Regions from separate parts of the Homo sapiens genome. Here regions 2 and 3 are each linked to region 1. Evidence: promoter capture Hi-C in 16 types of primary human blood cells and fetal thymus (Javierre and others, 2016). All regions are on one chromosome and are shown on one strand. The core of a region is centred on a gene start or on the middle of the fragment in contact, and the rest is flanking DNA. Distances in the headings are between cores, read along the strand shown. Region 1 holds the start of MOGAT1 (monoacylglycerol O-acyltransferase 1). Region 2 has its middle 13 kb from the start of ACSL3. Region 3 overlaps ACSL3 (acyl-CoA synthetase long chain family member 3).

The links. The method cuts DNA at HindIII sites, captures the fragments that hold promoters and counts their contacts. A CHiCAGO score of 5 or more calls a contact.
Region 2: a fragment that was not itself captured here is called in contact with the fragment with the promoter of MOGAT1 in region 1 in 1 of 17 cell types (neutrophils); the score reaches 6.9 in neutrophils.
Region 3: a fragment that was not itself captured here is called in contact with the fragment with the promoter of MOGAT1 in region 1 in 10 of 17 cell types (M0 macrophages, total B cells, naive B cells and 7 more); the score reaches 8.2 in M0 macrophages.

The regions. Positions count from the first base shown.
Region 1 is chr2:222,669,452-222,673,306 of GRCh38, reverse strand. It overlaps MOGAT1 (monoacylglycerol O-acyltransferase 1), which reads right to left and starts at 1,649. Exons shown (of 6, transcript NM_058165.3): 1 at 1,428-1,649. The coding sequence starts at 1,521. LOC124907985 (a long non-coding RNA gene) reads right to left here. Exons shown (of 2, transcript XR_007088095.1): 2 at 2,305-2,671. The HindIII fragment of the contact is 3,409 bases long and covers 463-3,855 here.
Region 2 is chr2:222,845,810-222,849,656 of GRCh38, reverse strand. No RefSeq gene overlaps it. Among named protein-coding and RNA genes, the nearest start is that of ACSL3, 13 kb to the left of the region's middle. The HindIII fragment of the contact is 5,305 bases long and covers 1-3,847 here.
Region 3 is chr2:222,892,203-222,896,524 of GRCh38, reverse strand. All of the region lies in intron 2 of ACSL3 (acyl-CoA synthetase long chain family member 3), which reads right to left. Among named protein-coding and RNA genes, the nearest start is that of ACSL3-AS1, 25 kb to the left of the region's middle. RefSeq lists a silencer at 1,057-1,257. The HindIII fragment of the contact is 1,091 bases long and covers 2,527-3,617 here.

The DNA.
Region 1 (3,855 bases), core at 400-2,899:
AGAGTCACTCGGAGAGTTCTTAAGAGGAAAAAGGAAAAAAAAAAAGGTGTACAGACTTCATTCTGAAACAAATGACTTAGAAATTCCAGGGATGAGCCGGGCGCGGTGGCTCACGCCTGTAATCCCAGCACTTTGGGAGGCTGAGACAGGCGGATCACCTGAGATTGGGAGTTCGAGACCACCCTGACCAACATGGAGAAACCCCGTCTCTACTAAAAAGACAAAATTAGCCAGATGTGGTGGCACATGCCTGTAACCCCAGCTACTCGGCAGGCTGAGGCAGAAGAATTACTTGAACCCGGGAGGCGGAGGTTGTGGTGAGCCGAGATGGCGCCACTGCACTCCAGCGTGGGCAACAAGAGTGAAACTCCGTCTCAAAGATAATAATAATAATAATAATAATAATAATAATAATAAACAAATTCCAGGATGGAGCCTGGGCATCTGCACTTTTTAGAAGCTTCTCCAGTGATTCTCATCTAGAGCCAGGGTTGAGAACCACTGATTCAGGCTTTCGAAATGTAAAAGCAGTTTTAAAAGTGTAAAACTCTCCAATGCAATGGGCTTATTACTATTATTACCACCCCAACGCTGTACAATCCATGATCTTACAGCATACACATGATCTTAGTCTTCAGAAGAGTTTATGTTTCAATAGAAGGGTCTCCCCCAAATTCCTCCCTCCTCCCACATCACCCCTATTTACTTCAAGAGCAGAACAAATATGAAGGAAAAAACAAAAAACAAAAAGAAAAACCACCCACGTTTTTGCCCCATCTAATGATTCGGCTCGTGTATGTTTCATGGGCTCAACTTGGGAACCAACTGGAACACACACGCTACTGAGTCAAACTATTTCCAGAGAGAAACCGCTCAACCAAATGCAATGAGTGGTGCAGCCTTCTTTACAGAAAGGTACTGCTATGCATCCAGGAAATCTCCAAAACGGGAAAGGGAACACTGCTCTTTGTCAGGAGGGTGGGGAGACAAAGAGGGAGAAGGAACAAGGTTTTAACTACTGAGGCATTACTTTGCCATCTATGAATCAACAGTTCGAGAAACGAGTTTGCCAACTTTTGAGGGGTTAAAGTGCTCATGCGTTCGATGGGGTCATGGTTACATTTTGGTAGATACAGTCGCCAAAAGTCATCGAGCTGTATCCGTATAACTGCGCCTTTTATTGTAGGCAAGGTGCACCTCAATTTAAAAAAGTAACGCAGGAGAAAATAAAATTAAACAGTCGTTAGCGATGAGGTTCTCGTGAGGAAACCAGAGTCCACGTTAGCTCCAAATGCCCTCTTTGACCTGCCTGCTCTGGCCGACAGGGGAACGAGGGTTGGAAGGTTCTATGCAGGTCCTGGAATCCGGACCGTCCCGAGGGAGGATATGGAGCCCAAGCCCCGCGGCCCGGGGGGCGGGGTCCTTACCGAGCAGCAGGTATTTCAGGACCCACTGCAGCACGGCCACCGTCTGCAGCCGCCGCGCCAGCTGGATGTTGAGCGGTGCAAACTCTACCTTCATGGCCTGGCCGGGCGAGGACGGCGCCAGCCACTGCAGCCTGCACCCACGCTGCTCTGCGGCGCCTGTGGGAAGTGCCCGGCCGGATCCGGGCCCCGCGCTGGGCACTGGCTGGGCGGAGAGGAAAAGGCAGAGGCTAGGCAGCGAGCGGGGACCCAACTGCGCCCTGGGTGGGAGGGCGCGCTGGGCTGAGGCTGGGGGCAGCCAATCACAAGCGCCGGGCGCCAGAGCTGGCCCAGCGCCCTGGCCCCGGAGCAGCTACAGCGGCCCGGGCGCATTGGCTGGCGCGCCGGGCGTTGGCGAGAGTGCGCCGCGTGGGACACGAGGGACGGGGAGAGGGGTCAACTGGCAGCCAGCCCGAGCCGGGCAGCGCGGGCTCCTGCCGCCTGGCTGAGGACCTGGGATCTCCACCAGGATCTGACCATTGTTCAGCTGATCGATCACCCAGCGCTTGCCTTCAGCATCCCACCCCTTCATTCGAACCCTCGGTGATTGGGGAAGGGTTAGTTTGAGGAATCGCACACCAGCTGGAGAGATGAGCGAGACTTGTTTCTTAGTTTATTGATCTGTGTCCCCCCGCAACCTCCAATTTCCCCGCGGATGGGGAAGGGGACCTGGCTTCCTCACTCTTGGGTCCTCAGTTCCCTACAGGAGCTCCGGGAATCTTTCACCCATTCATTCATTCAACCCACATTTATTGAGCACTTGCCACTTGCTGAGCACCATCCGGGCGCTTGGATAACCAAGCTGTCAAGCGCATCCGTGTGAAGAGACCACCAACAGGCATTGTGTGAGCAACAAGGCTGTTTATTCACTTAGGTGCAAGTCAGCTGAGTCCGAAAAAGAGTCAGCGAAGGGAGATGGGGAAGGGGTTGCTTTATAGGAGTTGTCTAGGTAATGGAAAATTACAGTAGAAGGTGGTTATCTATTGTTAGCAGAGGAAGGGGTCACAAGGTACAGGGTGGGGAGATCATAAGACTCATTGTCCAGAAGAAGAATGTCACAAAGTCGATTGATCGGCTAAGGTAGGGCAGGGACAAGTCACAATGGTAAAATGTTGTAATGTTGGTTAATCAGTTAAGGCAGGAACTGGCTGTTTTACTTCTTTGCGTTTTTTTTGGCTGCTCCAGGCTTCTTGGCTCCTGCAGGCCACCTGGATGTGTACATGCAGGTCACAGAGGTTATAATGGCTGAGCTTTGGCTCAGAGGCCTGACACAAGCTATTCATTGTCTTGTTCTCAGAGTACAGGGGGAAACAGACATAAGCAAAACAACTACACAATTTGGTGTATAATTACAAGTAAGACCCTACTGTGAATGACTAGAAGATTCCAAAACCAAGACTGCTGCACGGTCAGGGAAGTGTCTGAAGAAGTGCCCTTACTTGAGCTGTAGCCAAATCTAGTTAACCCAGGAGTCATCCGGGCAAAGGGAAGCACATATGCAAAGGTCCTGTGGCTGAACTCCAAGAAGAGCTCAAAGAGTGAGAGCTTGGGGGACAAGGGTGAGATTGGGGTGACATCAGGCAAAAATGGTGGGCAAGGTCCAGACCCTTGCAGACTGAGTTAGGGTTCAAGTTTGAACCCCAAGAGCAGTACAAGACACTGAAGGGTTTCAATTACGATGTGCTAAATGGATGGCTAGATTCTAAATAGTGCCTAGTCCTTGGGAGCAACCACTGCACTTTATTTATAAATATTAATTACCACATAGTTGAAAAACTCAAAATGATGAGCAGCTGTCAAGTCATTGCTGAAGAGGACTTGGAACAGGGCAAAACAATATAGTTGGCCCTCCTTTCTCCCCCATCCTATGCCCTTTTCTCCTTCAACATTTTAATACAAAGGGAGTTGGATTAAAACAAATACCAGGGCCACTTGGAGGAGTTGTTTGTGATTTTTTGTATGCAAAACTTGTTTGGGTTTCTTTTTCCTCCTACTTAAGGAGTCACTTTCTTCTTTCCTTTTAGATTTCTTCCTTGAATCTTCCCCCAGTGCTAGGTGGGGACACTACGAACACACCCTATGTCAGGCACTCTGCAGAGACCTCACAGGCGTAATCTCAAAAACCCTACAAAGTACGCATTCACTTCAACTTTGCAGCTGAGGAAATTAGGGCTTAAAGTCACACAGCTGGTAAATGGCAGAATAGAGAAGATTCAAATTTCTATAAAACCTGGAGAGGCGAGTCATCCCTTCATCAACTGAACCAAACATAGAACAAACATTTATGGAGTGCCTGCATTGCCTTGGGCATTGTCCTTGGTACTGATGACACAAACGTGAATTAAGATGAGGTCTCTGTGCCTTTGAGAATTTACACACATTTACTTATTGA
Region 2 (3,847 bases), core at 306-2,805, 180 kb before region 1:
GTAAGTGCCACCAGACAAGAATGCTAGACACTGCAGATATAGCACTTACGGAAACTGAAGAGATTCTGACCCTTAAGGATTTTATATTCTAAGATAAAATCATTATGATAAATAAATAAAAATAGTAAACATTATTATTATTTTTTGAGACAGAGTCTCGCACTGTCGCGGAGCCTGGAGTGCAGTGGCGTGATCTCGGCTCACTGCAAGCTCCGCCTCCCGGGTTCACGCCATTCTCCTGCCTCAGCCTCCTGAGTAGCTGGGACTGCAAGCTCCCGCCACCACTCCCGGCTGATTTTTTTATTTTTAGTATAGATGGGGTTTCACCGTGTTAGCCAAGACGGTCTCGATCTCCTGACCTCGTGATCCACCCACCTCGGCCTCCCAAAGTGCTGGGATTACAGGCGTGAGCCACCGCGCCCGGCAAACAATATTATTTTAAAAGACAATTACAGAATCAAAGTGCTCTTCAGACATTTAAACAGATGACTCGGGAAAAAGAAATAGAGACAATTTTGGGTGGGGAGGTCAGTGAAGGCAAATCAGAGAGGTGACATTTAAGCTCCAATGAGGAAGTGGCTGATATTTATAGTGCGAACAAGATTCCTCCAGCTTTCGAGAGCCTCTGCCAGAGATTAGGAACATATTGTTGTATCCTGTGGACCGGGCCTGACATTTTTAGGAATCCTGCCCTATTTGCAGAATCCATAAATGTAACAAGGAATACAGTCTCATCATCTACAGGTCCATTAGGCATTGAACTCAAATATCAAGCGGTCTGTGAGGCTCCCATGCAAAATTACTCCTCCCATTCTCTCTGTTTTGTTTATGCTATTGGTTAGGTATTGTGTTCTCAGTTATTAGCTATGTTATCAGTTATCTATTGGTTAGGTATCATGTTCTCAGTTATTAGCTATGTTATCAGTTATCTGTTGTTTAGGTAACATGTTATCAGTTAGGTCTCCTTAGGTTACAAGGAACAGAAAATGTAAATTAGACTTGCTTGAGCAAATGGAATTTATTGGCTTACAAAATTAAACAGCCCTGGAGTATATCTGCCTTCAGGGAACACTCGAGACTGGGCTCAAAAATATCAGAAAGACAGACCGGGCACGGTGGCTCATGCCTGTAATCCCAGCACTTTGGGAGGCTGAGGTGGGTGGATCACTTGAGGTCAGGAGTTCGAGACCAGCCATGGCTAACATGGTGAAACCCCGTTTCTAATAAGAATACAAAAAATTAGCCGGGCGTGGTGGCGCATTCCTGTAATCCCAGCTGTCAGGCCTCTGAGCCCAAGCCAAGCCATCGCATCCCCTGTGACTTGCACATATACATCCAGATGGCCTGAAGTAACTGAAGATCCACAAAAGAAGTAAAAATAGCCTTACCTGATGACATTCCACAATTGTGATTTGTTCCTGCCCCACCCTAACTGATCAATGTACTCTGTAAACTCCCCCACCCTTAAGAAGGTACTTTGTAATCTCCTTCACCCTTAAGAAGGTTCTTTGTAATTCTCCCCACCCTTGAGCATGTACTTTGTGAGATCCAGCCCTGCCCGCAAAACATTGCTCTTAACTTCACCGCCTATCCCAAAACCTGTAAGAACTGATGATAATCCACCAGCCTTTGCTGACTCTCTTTTCGGACTCAGCCCGCCTGCACCCAGGTGAAATAAACAGCCATGTTGCTCACACAAAGCCTGTTGGGTGGTCTTTTCACACGGACGCGCATGAAACCAGCTACTCGGGAGGCTGAGGCAGGAGAATCACTTGAACCCAGGAGGCAGAGGTTGCAGTGAGCCAAGATTGTGCCATTGTATTCCAGCTTGGGCAACAAGGGCAAAACTCTGTCTCAAAAAAAAAAAAAGAATCAGAAAGAACAGCTTTGTCTGTCTGTTCCACAGATCGGTTTCCTTGGTGTTGGTGTTTGCTCCAGCCTGAGGTCCCCATGTCAGAAAGATGGCTAGAAGCCCCTTCAGACTCCTATCTCACTGGAAATTCAGAGTCTCTTCCCAGAAATCTTATTTCTTTTGAGAGATTATGTGTCCCTCCTCACTCAATCTTTTTTTTTTTTTTTTTTTCTCTTTGAGATGGAGTCTCACTTTGTCACCAGGCTGGAGTGCAGTGGCACAATCTCAGCTCACTGCAACCTCCCCTTCCCAGGTTCAAGCGATTCCCCTACCTCAGCCTCCCAAGTAGCTGGGACTATAGACACGCACCACCATGGCCAGCTATTTTTTTTATTTTATTTTACTAGAGACAGGATTTCACCATGTTGGCCAAGATGGTCTCGATCTCCTGACCTCGTGATCCACCTGCCTTGGCCTCCCAAAGTGCTGGGATTACAGGCATAAGCCACCACGCCCGGCCGTCACTCAATCTTTCTGTCTGTCTCAGCCTAACTCACTTGCTCCACCACTGGATTCTAGGGAGGGTGGAGTTCAGCCATGCACACCCCAAAACAGAGAGGGAATGTAGCTGGGGAGGCAGGTGTGAATTCGCCACAGGAAAAATACAGTTATCAGTAGAAAGGTGAAGTGGAACAAAATATCAGATGGCACCACCCTGAGCTTAGTACTTCTTGTGCTGTATTACTGTCCGTTGTGTTTATTTCCTTCTGTAACACAATGATAAGCTGTTTGAGAACAAGGAGCACATCACTTTCATTTCTTTATCCCTAAGATCCATCCAATGTGGTGATTGGTACAATGTCTCTCCCAATACACAGTTGTTGAATTCAACTATGAAAACTGTGCATACACGCACATGTTCAGAGGGGTACATACACCAATGTTGGCTAAACATTTAAATATCTCACAAGACATCAAACTGTTTCTTAAAAGTTTAACTGAAAAACTATCCTCATGCTACATATACTTCAGTGATTTCTTCTGCGATATTTTCAGTTTGTTATTCTTTCTACAATGAGTTTATTCCTATATGTTTTTTCTTATTAATATTTCAGAGGGATAGTTTTCTGTTTGTTTGTTTGTTTGTTTTGATACAGGGTCTCACTCTATCACCCAAGCTAGAGTACAGTGGTACCATCTCGGCTCACTGCAACCTCTGCCTCCCAGGTTCAAGCAATTCTCCCTGTGCCTCAGCCTCCCAAGTAGCTGGGATTACAGGCATGCACCACCATGGGCAGCTAATTTTTGCATTTTTAGTAGAGATGGGGTTTTGCCATGTTGGCCAGGCTCGTCTCAAACTCCTGGCTTCAAGTGATCCACGTGCCTCAACCTCCCAAAGTGGTGGGATTACAGGGGTGAGCCACCATGCCTAGCCCTTAATCACATATTTCAATCCACGTTTAATCTTCATAAATCTTCTAGTTCCTTGGTAGTCAAAGTGTGCTGCATGGAACAGCAGAATTAGCATCAGCATCATCTGGAAGCATATTAAAACTGCAGAATCTCAGGCCCCACCCAGGCCTATGTGACCCAGATCTGCATTTTCACAAGATTTTCGGGTTGATTTAGAGACACAAGAAAGTTTGAGAATCGCTAGCCAACTGCTGTAGACCTGCACCATTCACTGGAGACGGAATAGGAGATAAGTATGTAATTTAAAATGTTCTGACAGCACATTAACAAGTAAAAAGGGTTGGGCATGATGCTGCAATCTGAGCACTTTGGGAGGCCAAAGTAGGTGGATTGCTTGAGCCCAGGAGTTCAAGACCAGCCTCGGCAACATAGGGAGACCCCCGCCTCTAAAAAAAAAAAAAAAGAAAAAGACAGAAAAGAAAACAAGTGATATTAATTTTAGTAATATATTTTGTGCAACTCAAGATGTCCAAAATATTATCATTTCAACTTGTAATCAATATAAAAACTTATTAGTGAGGT
Region 3 (4,322 bases), core at 1,823-4,322, 220 kb before region 1:
CCCCTCGCCCGGCCAGCCGCCCCGTCCGGGAGGGAGGTGGGGGGGGTCAGCCCCCCGCCCGGCCAGCCGCCCCGTCCGGGAGGGGGGAGGGGGAGTCAGCCCCCTGCCCGGCCAGCCGCCCCGTCCGGGAGGGAGGTGGGGGGGTCAGCCCCCCGCCCGGCCAGCCGCCCCGTCCGGGAGGGAGGTGGGGGGATCAGCCCCCCGCCTGGCCAGCCGCCCCGTCCGGGAGGTGAGGGGCGCCTCTGCCCGGCCGCCCCTACTGGGAAGTGAGGAGCCCCTCTGCCCGGCCAGCCGCCCCGTCCGGGAGGGAGGCGGCGGGGGGGGGGGTCGGCCAGCCGCCCCGTCCGGGAGGGAGGTGGAGGGGTCAGCACCCGCCCGGCCAGCCGCCCCGTCCGGGAGGGAGGTGGGGGGGTCAGCCCCCCGCCCGGCCAGCCGCCCCATCCGGGAGGTGAGGGGCGCTTCTGCCCGGCCGCCCCTACTGGGAAGTGAGGAGCCCCTCTGCCCGGCCACGACCCCGTCTGGGAGGTGTGCCCAGCGGCTCATTGGGGATGGGCCATGATGACAATGGCGGTTTTGTGGAATAGAAAGGCGGGAAGGGTGGGGAAAAAATTGAGAAATCGGATGGTTGCCGGGTCTGTGTGGATAGAAGTAGACATGGGAGACTTTTCATTTTGTTCTGTACTAAGAAAAATTCTTCTGCCTTGGGATCCTGTTGATCTGTGACCTTATCCCCAACCCTGTGCTCTCTGAAACATGTGCTGTGTCCACTCAGGGTTAAATGGATTAAGGGCGGTGCAAGATGTGCTTTGTTAAACAGATGCTTGAAGGCAGCATGCTCCTTAAGAGTCAGCACCACTCCCTAATCTTAAGTACCCAGGGACACAAACACTGCGGAAGGCCGCAGGGTCCTCTGCCTAGGAAAACCAGAGACCTTTGTTCACTTGTTTATCTGCTGACCTTCCCTCCACTATTGTCCTATGACCCTGCCAAATCCCCTTCTGCGAGAAACACCCAAGAATGATCAATAAAAAAAAAAAAAAAAAAAAAAAAAAAAGAACAAAGTAATGGTAACAGGCCAGGACAAAAGAGGTTCTTTTGTTTTTAACATAAATAGTAGAGCTTGTCTGCAGACTGATAGCTATGAACCAGCAGAGGAAAGTATTATGCAGAAGAGAGCCACACCTCTGGAGGAGGAGAGAGGGTGGGAGAAACAGGGACACAGATGTGCAGGAATAGGAGCTTGCAGAAGATTTTCTTCTGGGTGCTTCTATTTTCTCAGAGTAATAAGCAAAATCATTGGATGTGAGGGAGGCAGAAAGGAAGGTATTAGAAAATTAAGGAGAAAGTATAAAATAGTCATCTAGGAGAGTGGCAGAATGAATGGTCATGGAAAAGGAATAGCAAAGGCAGGCTGGAGTATGAAATAATAAGACCACAGTGTTAGAACGATATTGAAATCACTAAGAATCACGACAGAGTAGTGTCAGGGTCACAGGAAGACATATTTACAGATTTGGGGATGAGTAGTTAACTGCAACTAGTAGTAACATAGTCTGAAGATAAAACTTGGAAAGACACACACACACACCTGGGAGACATGGCAGTACTGTTTCAGTGGCAAAAAACCAAAAATAGAAAATGATCTAAAGATTCATTAATCAAAGAATGCCTGAAAAACATATATACCCATTGAACAGACTATTATGCAGCCATTAAAAGTAAGCTACATGTACATGCATTGACCTAGAAGAACTTCTATGATACCTTGCCAACTGAGAAGAATGTATACACGGGCATGCCTGGCTTCATGCCTGACTACAGAAAAAGATATAGGCAAGTCAAGGTTTTTAAGAAATTATCCCTGAATATTTAAATGCAGGTCTAAGTCCATTAATCTTTCACCATGAAGAATTTAACAACTCCCAACTTCACTAAACTCTCACAACTGCTAATTAAAATAACAAGATGAATTAAGTTTAACAGCATTAAAAGAAAATGACCTATTACTACTTATACAATAAAGATGAGCAAACAAAATCTTGAAATATAAAATTGTGTGATAAATAGCTAGGTTCAAACACTTGAAATGTGTTTTTTAAAATGTTCTATGCCAATGGTCAGTTGCATTAGATCAAAGAGTTATTTACATCTTATATTTTAATTAGCAATTGTTTTAAATCAGAATGATCAAGCACAAGGAAGATCTCTTCTCTGTATGACCTCTATTATTTGAGAGGAAGAACACAGGTGACTTGGAAAGACTGAAGGAAAAGGAGACCAGACAGGATTTTGTGTTATTCAGATCTTGTGTTATGAAACAAATGTAAGTAAAGTAACGGAGCTTAACCATCAGCCAGGAAATCACTTTCAAATGATATACTTCCAAAAGGTATGAAGTGGATGTTAAAATAAAATTTTATGTTAAAAATTGCTATTAAATAATATTATTAATATCATAGTCAAATGCCCTGTAACAACTCCCAATTTTTCAAAACAAAAATTGCTACAAATGCTCATATGAAAGCTTCTTGCCGGGAGCGGTGGCTCATGACTGTAGTCCCAGCTACAATGGAGGCTGAGGTGGGAGGATCTCTCCAGCCCAGAGGTTGAGGTTGTGGTGTGCTGTGATCACACCAAAGCACTCCAGCCTGAGCAACAGAGCAAGACTTTGTGAAAAGACAAAGTCAGAAAGAAAGAAACCCTGTGAGAAAAAACAACCCTGTGAGGTGAGAAGAGGCAGAGGAGGGATGGGGAGAGGTGGGAAGGGAAGGAGAGGGAAAGGAGGCGGAAAGCGGGGGAAGGGAGAGGAGAGAAAAGAAGAGAAGAGAGAAGGAAGAAAAAGAGAAAAGAAAAGAGAAGGAAGAAAATCTTCTATCAGAGATGACGTGTTTTCCTAAGAGAAAAACAGGAAAAAAGTAGGTTGCCACAGGGATCACTTTCAGACTAACGTATCAAATGGTTCTACCTGCTTAGATCTGGGGTTTCAAGAATCTCTTAGGCGCAAGAGAGATACAACATGGTAACTCAACCCAAAATTGGCAGACCTGTGAAATTAACCTCCACAAAACTCATGGACTGAACAAAGAAAACAGGAGTCACTCTCAGAATCTAAGACATGTACACTGTCTAAGGAGGGAAGAAGTCAACAATGGTATTATATTCACACCCTACTGACAGAGCAAGCAGACATTTTATGCCCCTCACATCCACCACCATCATGAAAAGGAATCTGAAAACTCAACTTGCAGAGCAGGCAGAGAGCCCCAACACTTAGAAATGCTCCCACAAAGTCAAAGGCAGCAGAGGATGAGGACAGGGGGAAGAGAGGACAGAAAAGGAGAAAATACTGCAGACGGTGCATCTTGATATGCCACAATTTACTTCTCAGTTAATCCTGCCCACCACTCAATCTGATTTCCTCCTCTGTATTTTTCTTTCAGCCTACCACACTCAGGCACCAATACTATACAACTGTTCATATCTGCAAATAACAATAATAATAATATGGCTTAGCATTTTATCTCTAATGAAGTATAAATGAGTGGCTTGCACAATGCTGGATATCAAGGAATCCGTATTTGCTAGTATGAAATGTGGCTGGAATTTTTCACCAAGCTTGCAATAAATGGGAAACAATTCTGAGTGCAGGCAAACAAGCACAGTGAAGGGAACTTTTTATGTTATCTCATTTAATTCTCACAAAACCCAATTTCAAATAGATTGTCCCCAAAGGCACTTACAGCTAGCAGGTAAGGTAGGATATTAACCTACATGTCTCTCCAAGGCATGTCCAAACTTTTTAATGACCCTATACTCTCTTAATAAATTCTATAGTTAATACCTTATTGTTGGGGAGAAAAAAGTATCCTTTAATACACTACTTTTGAGAGTCTCCTTTCCACAAAAGTTAGGTGACAGTCATACACACTCTACAGAGACTTAAGAGTCCCAGATGAATGACGCAAATCATGTATTATGAAATAGGAAACCAGGGTCAAGAAGGGCAGAAAGAACTATTTCCTACCCAGAATTAATCTCTCAGAGTTATAATGGAAAGTGCAACCAGAGACTATTATTTACTATCGGGAAAGAGTTTCTTTTTTAGAGGGGCACCCTGGTTCTCACAAACATGTTTGCTTCTCAGGCATCCAAAGCTAAACACATAATAAAAATACATACCTAGATACCTAGTTCAAGAGAATGGTTTTAAAACATTTACTTACTATATATCCTGCTGCCTCCCTCCCGAAAAAAAGCAGACCTAAAAGTAGGACAGTTGTTTTAAATTCTTACAAATATCAACAACACACAGACTAACTTAT